Regions from separate parts of the Homo sapiens genome. Here region 2 is linked to region 1. The links are contacts of gene promoters, found by promoter capture Hi-C in human tissues and cell types (Jung and others, 2019). All regions are on one chromosome and are shown on one strand. Each heading gives the region's core, a stretch centred on a gene start or on the middle of the fragment in contact. The rest is flanking DNA. Distances are from core to core; before and after follow the strand shown.

Evidence for each region. The method cuts DNA at HindIII sites, captures the fragments that hold promoters and counts their contacts. A contact is called where the count stands out against the background at its distance.
Region 2: a fragment that was not itself captured here is called in contact with the fragment with the promoter of ZFP42 in region 1 in 1 of the 25 tissues and cell types used here (stomach).

Annotation. Positions count from the first base shown.
Region 1 is chr4:187,994,450-187,998,240 of GRCh38, reverse strand. It overlaps ZFP42 (ZFP42 zinc finger protein), which reads right to left and starts at 2,470. Exons shown (of 4, transcript NM_174900.5): 1 at 2,401-2,470. RefSeq lists enhancers at 1,412-1,706, 1,321-2,302, 2,303-3,282. The HindIII fragment of the contact is 6,716 bases long and covers 1-3,791 here.
Region 2 is chr4:188,156,774-188,160,983 of GRCh38, reverse strand. It overlaps LINC02434 (long intergenic non-protein coding RNA 2434), which reads right to left and starts at 931. Exons shown (of 2, transcript NR_187427.1): 1 at 882-931; 2 at 1-483. RefSeq lists an enhancer at 535-1,734. The HindIII fragment of the contact is 3,258 bases long and covers 284-3,541 here.

The DNA.
Region 1 (3,791 bases), core at 1,221-3,720:
CGTCAGCCTCCTGAGTAGCTGGGATTACAGGCATGTGTCACCACGCCCAGCTAATTTCGTATTTTTAGTAGAAATGAGGTTTCTCCACGTTGGTCAGGCTGGTCTCCAACTCCCGACCTCAGGCGATCCGCCTGCCTCAGGCTCTCAAAATGCTGGGATTACAGGCGTGAGCCACCGCGCCCAGACTCTTTTTAACTTTATAAACTTAAAAATGTGCAAACTTCCTGACTCTTTTGTAATAACACTTAGCTTAAAACACAAACATTTTTTCACCTGTACAAAAATATTTTTTCTTTATATTCTTATTCTGTAAAATTTTGTCTGTTTAAAAACTTTTACGTTAAAAACGAAGAGACAAACACACACATGAGCCTAGGCCTACACAAATTCAGGATCATGAAGATGTCACTAGGCCATGGGGATTTTTCAGCTCTTTTATAATCTTATGGGACCACCATAGTACGTGGGGTTGCTCACTGACTGAAACGGCCTTATATGGAACTTGACTGTACATGGAAAACATACTGGTAAAAGCGGATGTGGACGAAATCTTCATATACATTTAGTATTCGTTCTAGGTGCTGAACTTAGGGAAAAAGATGCAAAGTTCCTCGTTAACACAAAGTTTGGTGTGGGACAGACAGTAAAGGGCAAATAAACAAAAAATGTCAGATTGAGAAAAATGCTATTAAAAAAAAGGTCGGGGCGGGGTGGGACCGGGAGCGGTGGCTCACGCTTGTAATCCCACCACTTTGGGAGGCCGAGGCGGGCGGATCACGAGGTCAGGAGATCGAGACCATCCTGGCCAACATGGTGAAACCCTATTAAAAATAAAAAAAATTAGTCGGGCGTGGTGGCGGGCGCCTGTAGTCCCAGCTACTCGGGAGGCCGAGGCAGGAGAATCGCTTGAACCTAGGAGGCGGAGGTTGCAGTGAGCCGAGATCGTGCCACTGCACTCCAGCCCAAGCGACAAGAGCAAAACTCTGTCTCAAAAAAAAAAAAAAAAAAAAAAGAATATGAGAGGGGAAGTAACCGAGGACGCCACCTTCATCATGAATGTCTGGAAAAGGCCCCCAAGGAGGGGGCCATCGGAGCCAGATGTGGGCAGGAGGAAAAGTGCACGGGGGTGGGAAGAGACGAGCGAAGCCTGCTGGTTCCAGGCTGCCGGCGCTCCCCGGGGGCTGCAGGCCATGCTCCATGCTCCACGCTCCATGCTCCATGCTCCACGCTCCACGCTCCATGCTCCATGCTCCCTACAGCTATGGCGGGCAGGAAGGTGGGGGCTGGGGCGAGGCCCAGGCGCGGGGCTGACGGTGAGCCCCGGGACCATTTGCATTTCATCCCAGGTCCCAAGGAAACCATTACAGGGCTTCCAACAAGCAAACAGCAAGTTTTTTTAGGTTAGAAGATGGGCCGGACAGCTGCATGGAGAATGGATTTGGGGAGAACAGAAAAATCTATTAGATTTGGGAATCCCGCGAAGGGCTGCCAGGGGTTTGGAGCAGATGGCGGCAGAGGAGATGAAATGCAGGGAGAGCGGGAAAACAGGAGAAAGAACCACCCCCTCGCCCTGCAGCTCGCCGGTGGATTGGATGAAGAGCGGAAGGGAAACAGGAATCAAGAATGAGTCTCGCCCGGCGCGGTGGCTCACGCCTGTAATCTCAGCACTTTGGGAGGCTGAGGCGGGCGGATCATCTGAGGTCACGAGTTCGAGACCAGCCTGACCAACATGGTGAAACCCCGTCTCTACTAAAATACAAAAATTAGCCGGGCGCAGTGAAGGGCGCCTGTAATCTCAGCTACTTGGGAGGCTGAGGCAGGAGAATCCCTTGAACCCGGGAGACGGAGGTTGCAGTGAGCCGAGATCGCGCCATTGCACTCCAGCCTGGCAACAGAGCGAGACTGTCTCCAAAAAAAAAGAAAAAAGAAAAGAAAGAGTCTCCTAGGTTTTTTGCTAGAGTAATTTGAGTTGGGGGTATTGCCATCTCCAGAGATAAGAGGAGAGGAAAAGAAAGGGAAGAGACTGGTGTCTTGATCACAATGTAAGCATGTTAATATAGAAAAGACTTAGCCAGATATTGTAAGGAAACATATTTACATGAAGTTTTGAAATAAAATAAAAAATGCAATTTAGGAAATCACCGCCAGACACTTGCTTTCTTGAGAGTGTATTACTTGCCCATCTGCCCGTTTTCAACATTTGAGGCCAGTGGCCAGCCACGGGTCACCGCAGGGCGAGGGCTACAAGTCTCCCGGCGAGGCCGGCTCCGGCCTGGTCCCAGGATGAGAACACGCTTCCCCTCCCTGACTATCTAACCCCTTTGACCGACACATTCCAAGTAGTGAGCAACACAACCCCCTTCTCCCCATTTGAAAAAAGTTCCATGAAACAAGACTCACCCCTGTTACCGCGAAGCACTCTGCTATTTCCAATGCCACCTCCTCCCAAACGTAAAACAAAGGAGAAACTGCAGTGGAAACGTGGACTGCCCTGCGCCCCCTCCCAAGACCCACCCTCCGGACTGACGCGGTCTAATCAGGCTACAGCCACCCATCAGCTCCGCCAGGGTTAGGGAGGGCGTGGCCGGCCCCGCCCTGGGGCGCCGCCCTGGAGCCACCTGGCCCGCGCGTTCACTCTCTGCCCGGAGCCGCCTGGCACCTGGGCGGCGCGCTCACCCTCAGCCCGGGGCCCCCAGGCACCCGGCCCGCACGCAAACCCTCAGCCCGGGGCCCCCTGACCCCCGCGTTCACCCCTCAGCCCGGCCGCCGGGCACTGCGCATCCGCCACGTGGCAGCGCCTCCAGAGCCCAGACGCCCGGCGTTGGCACGTGGTGAGCGCTCAATAAATGTCTGTTGAACAAATACGCGTGGGTGTAATCACATTTACCCTTTTAGGCCGGACGCGGTGGCTCACGCCTGTCGTCCCAGCACTTTGGGAGGCCGAGACGGGGGGATCACATGAGGTCAAGCGTTCGAGACCAGCCTGGCCAACATGGCGAAACCCCGTCTCTACCGAAAAATACAAAAATTAGCCAGGCATGGTGGTGCTCGCCTGTAATCCCAGCTACTCAGGAGGCTGAGGCAGGAGAATCGCTTGAACCCGGGATGCGGAGGTTGCAGTGAGCCGAGATCGCGCCACTAAGCTCCAGCCTGGGTGATAGAGCGAGGCTCCATCTCAATAGAACAAAACAAAACATTTACGCTTTTGCAGATCGAGGAAAAAAATCAAGCGGAGGAGGCAGTTTTTACCCCCCGAAATAGAGGTTGACTCGAACGCAAACCCCCACACCTTTCCCACCCCACCCTACCCCCAGTTGTTTCAAACACCCCCAGTGTTTGTTTTCTTTTTTCTTTTTCTGGCCATTAATGTGACTGTATTGCTAAAGGCAACACAACTCACTTTGAAAGCAATGGTCAGTCAACGCTCACTATTGGCTACAGTCTAGTGAAATGTAATAGGTCGTATAAGTACACCCAGACCATTAGAACGAAACCCAGATCGATATTTAAAAACCTCCTAAATGTTGACTTGAAGCTTTTCTGCATATATATCTGGGAGCAGTTCTCCACTTTTTTCTTTTTTTAAATCTGTTTCTGAATAAGCTTCAATTTTGAGGTTGGCCAATAAAATATAATTTTCCTTCCTTCCTTCCTTCCTTCCTTCCTTCCTTCCTTCCTTCCTTCCTTCCTTCCTTTCTTTTCTTTCTCTTTTTTTTTCTTTTTTGAGACGGAGTCTTTCTCTGTCCCCCAGGCTGGAGTGCAGTGGCACCGTCTCACCTCACTGCAACCTC
Region 2 (4,210 bases), core at 663-3,162, 160 kb before region 1:
TTACTCTTTAAAATGCCTAATAGCATTTTAAATGAGTCTAACAGTTCTTTAAATCTATGCCAAAGAAGAAAGAAGGGAGAAAAGTTACATTATTAGCTTCAGTGCCCAGGGTTCAAACAACAATAAAAGATTTAGGCTTTAAAAACAAAACTTATAATTAATTCTAAATAGTATAGTATTGTTTTCAATATTTATGTTGCTTAAAACTGGCTTTTGAATGATGTCCGTTAATAGGAAAAGGCTAGTTATAAAAGAACTAGGATGTGTGTAAAAGCAGCATGGACTCTCCGATTCGTCTCAGGAGGGTCTCCTGGCTGCCTCTGCAGTGAGATCGCATCACCAAGCAGCAATCTGGTCCCTCCTGTCTTCAGCCTGGGGCTATTTTTTCCCCTGGCTCCAGAAGCAGAGAGGCCAAGAAACCTCGAGCTTTTCTTCTCAAACAGGTTTACAGAACCAGTGTTTCCTTTCTGAGAAGCGAGACAACTGGGAGACAGGGAGGGTTGGGGGAAAGGAGAGTGACAATTGGAAGGAGAGGGGCACAATTTGGAGGGACAAAACGGGGAGCTGAGAAAAACAGCCTCCGAAAGCAGCCGGACCCTGCAAGGACCCTCCCACACCGCACCTCACTCCTCTCACACACACACCCCTCACCTAGAGGAGAGTCACCTCTCCAGAGCACCTGGGCCTTCATTCCCATCTGCAAGAGGGCAGGGCTCCCAGATACTCTGTGATGACGCGTGGGCCCCACCAAAATAGAACCGAACAGAACTGGTGGAGAAAGAATTTGTTTGAAATTTGTGGATCCACCATCACTGTGAAAAACACACCCCAGAAAGCAAATCACCACTCTAGACACTGACTTACAATGCAGAGGAGTTTACCATTTAGACCGGAAGGAGGTGAACGCGTGAGTCGATGCGGAGTTCACTGTTCAGACCGGAAGGAGGTGAACCCGTGAGTCCATGCGGAGGAGTTCACTGTTCAGACCGGAAGGAGGTGAACCCGTGAGTCGATGCGGAGGAGTTCACTGTTCAGACCGGAAGGAGGTGAACCCGTGAGTCCATGCGGAGGAGTTCACTGTTCAGACCGGAAGGAGGTGAACCCGTGAGTCGATGCGGAGGCGTTCACTGTTCAGACCGGAAGGAGGTGAACCCGTGAGTCCATGCGGAGGAGTTCACTGTTCAGACCGGAAGGAGGTGAACCCGTGAGTCGATGCGGAGGCGTTCACTGTTTAGACCGGAAGGAGGTGAACTCGTGAGTCCATGCGGAGGCGTTCACTGTTTAGACCGGAAGGGGTGAATGGGTGAGTTGATGCGGAGGAGTTCACTGTTCAGACCGGAAGGAGGTGAACCCGTGAGTCCATGTGGAGGCGTTTACTATTTCAACAGGAAGCGGATGATGAATCCCTGAGTCAAATGAAAGACAATGTTTGAAACTCTCAGGAATGTTTAGGAAGGCGTCATAAGAGATGAAGAGTGAGGGAATCAGAAACTCAGAAGGACCAGATTTGGGGCAGTATGCTTCGAGGCTGTTTTGTCCAGCCAACCCAACGCTGGAATCACCCCAAAAGCAGCGGCGGGGGAATTCCCACAAGGGAGTACTCTGAACTGTTCCAGGATGGGGTCGATTGGGATTCCAAAGAAAGAAGCCCTCATCAGCAGGGTGCTCAGTTCAGAGCAGTTATGAGGGGAGCTTACAGAGGCCACAGCGATCCTTGGAGAGAAAGGGGTGCTCTGTATGGACACAGGGAGGGGAACAACACACACTGGGGCCTGTCGGTGGGGCAGGGGGAGGGAGAACATCAAGATAAATAGTGAATACATGCGGGGCTTAAATACCTAAATGACGGGGTGATAGGTTCAGCAAACCACCGTGGCACATGTTTACCTATGTAACAAACCTGCGTGTCCTGCACATACATTCCAGAACTGAAAATTAAATTACATTTTTAAAAAGTATTTATATAATAACCAGAAAAAAAAAAAAGAGAGACTGGGCACAGTGGCTCAAACCTGTAATCCCAGCTCTTTGGGAGGCTGAGGCGGGCGGATCACCTGAGGTCAGGAGTTCAAGACCAGCCTGGCCAACGTGGTGAAACCCCGTCTCTACTAAAAATACAAAAATTAGCAGGGCGTGGTGGTATGCGCCTGTAATCTCAGCTACTCAAGAGGCTGAGACACGAGAATTGCTTGAACCCGGGAGGCAGAGGCTGCAGTGAGCTGAGACCACTCCACTGCACTTCAGCCTGGGTGACAGAGTGAAACTCCATCTCAAAAAAAAGGTGTTCTACCTGCGTGTGTCTGCAGTGAGGGGTTCAGGGATTATGGAATGTGAGAGTTTTAAGAAATTTGGTTAGGGGCCAGGGCCAGTTTCTTTCCGTGTTTCGGGCGACAACCTCGAGACCTTAATGAGTGTCTGGGAATGTTCGAGACTCCGGTTTGGGCCCGGTTTGGGTTTGGGCGTGCTGGGAGAAGCTTGCACCTGGCTGGGTGAAGAGCTGTCAGGACACTCTGTGATTCTTGGTCAGGGCACAGAAAGAAAGTGAAGTAGGGGAGAAGGGTTACTGGGGGACCCCACAGAGGCCATTGCAAAACTGGTGAGGTAGAGTTTCCGTAAGGACAGTAAGGACAGAACCAGGACCCCCAGGCAGAAATGGGAGGAATAGAAGGCAATATTCCGACCTCAGTTTCAGGTTCTTGGTCAGAACTGTGAGGAATCAGGGCAGTGTCTAAAACCTCAAACAGCGTCATGCTAGTGTAGACGTCCAAGCTTGGTGAGGAGCGATTCATAGTTAGCACTGTTGAGTGCTTACACCTGAAATTAAGTGATGCTCCAAGTACAAGTGTTATGTCATTTCATGCATACGACAGCCCTAGACAGCCCTGTGAAGCAGTATTATTTCCTTTTTTTTTTTTTTTTTTTTTGAGAGAGGGTATCGCTCTGTCGCTCAGGCTGGAATGCAATGGCACAATCACGGCTCACTGCAGCCTCGACCTCCCAGGCTTAAGTGATGCTCCCACCTCAGCCTCCTTAGTAACTGGGACCACAGGTGTGTGCCACCATACCTGGCTCATTCTTTTTATTTTTGGTAATAGTATTACTTGGGGTCTCACTATATTGCCCAGGCTGGTCTTGAGCGGGGCTCAAGCGATCCTCCTGCCTGGGCCTCCCAACTTGCTGAGGTTACCATGTACTGGCCCGGATATTATTTTCAAACACATTTTCCTGATGAGGGGACTGAGGCATGGGGAGACAAGCTGGTACAGTTAGTAAGTGGTGAGTGGTGGAGCTGAGATTTGAACCCAGCAGACCTGGCTTTACTGCCTTTGTGCTTCATCTTCGTATCTGGCTAACCCAGAGGCAGATGTACAATGGAGCTAGAGAAACTTAAGTTTCAGGCCCTTATTTATTTGATACTCTCTAAGACACTGGGCCTAATTTTATCATTTGTAATTTTTAAATTATTTTTTCTTTTTTTTTTTTTTGAGACAGAGTCTCTCTCTGCCACCAGGCTGGAGTGCAGTGGCGCCATCTCGGCTCACTGCAACCTCTGTCTCCCGGGTTCAAGTGATTCTCCTGCCTCAGCCTCCCAAGTAGTTGGAATTACAGGCATGCGCCACCACGCCTGGCTAATTTTTGTATTTTTAGTAGAGACGGGGTTTCACTGTGTTAGCCAGGATGGTCTCAATCTCTCGACCTCGTGATCTGCCCGCCTCGGCCTCCCAAAGTGCTGGGATTACAGGCGTGAGCCACTGCGCCAGGCCTTTTTTTTTTTTTTTTTTTTTTTGAGACAGAGTTTTGCTCTTGTTGTCCAGGGTGGAGTACAATGGCGCAATCTCAGCTCACCGCAATCTCTGCCTCCTGGGTTCAAGCGATTCTCCTGCCTCAGCCTCCTGAGTAGCTGGGATTACAGATCCACACCACCACACCCGGCTAATTTTTGTATTTTTAGTAGAGACGGGGTTTCTCCATGTTGGTCAGGCTGGTCTCGAACTCCTGATCTCAGGTGATCCACTCGCCTCAGCCTCCCAAAGTGCTGGGATTACAGGTGTGAGCCATCGCCCAGCCTGAGTGTCTAGTTTCAAAGTCTAAGCCCTACTCCAATTCCACTCAGTGTAGTTTCTTGGGGAATAAACGCAATGCTCTGGTGAGACCGCAAGGCAGGGGCAAACATGGTCTTTCTCTGGTCTGGAACTAGTGTGTCTGTCCC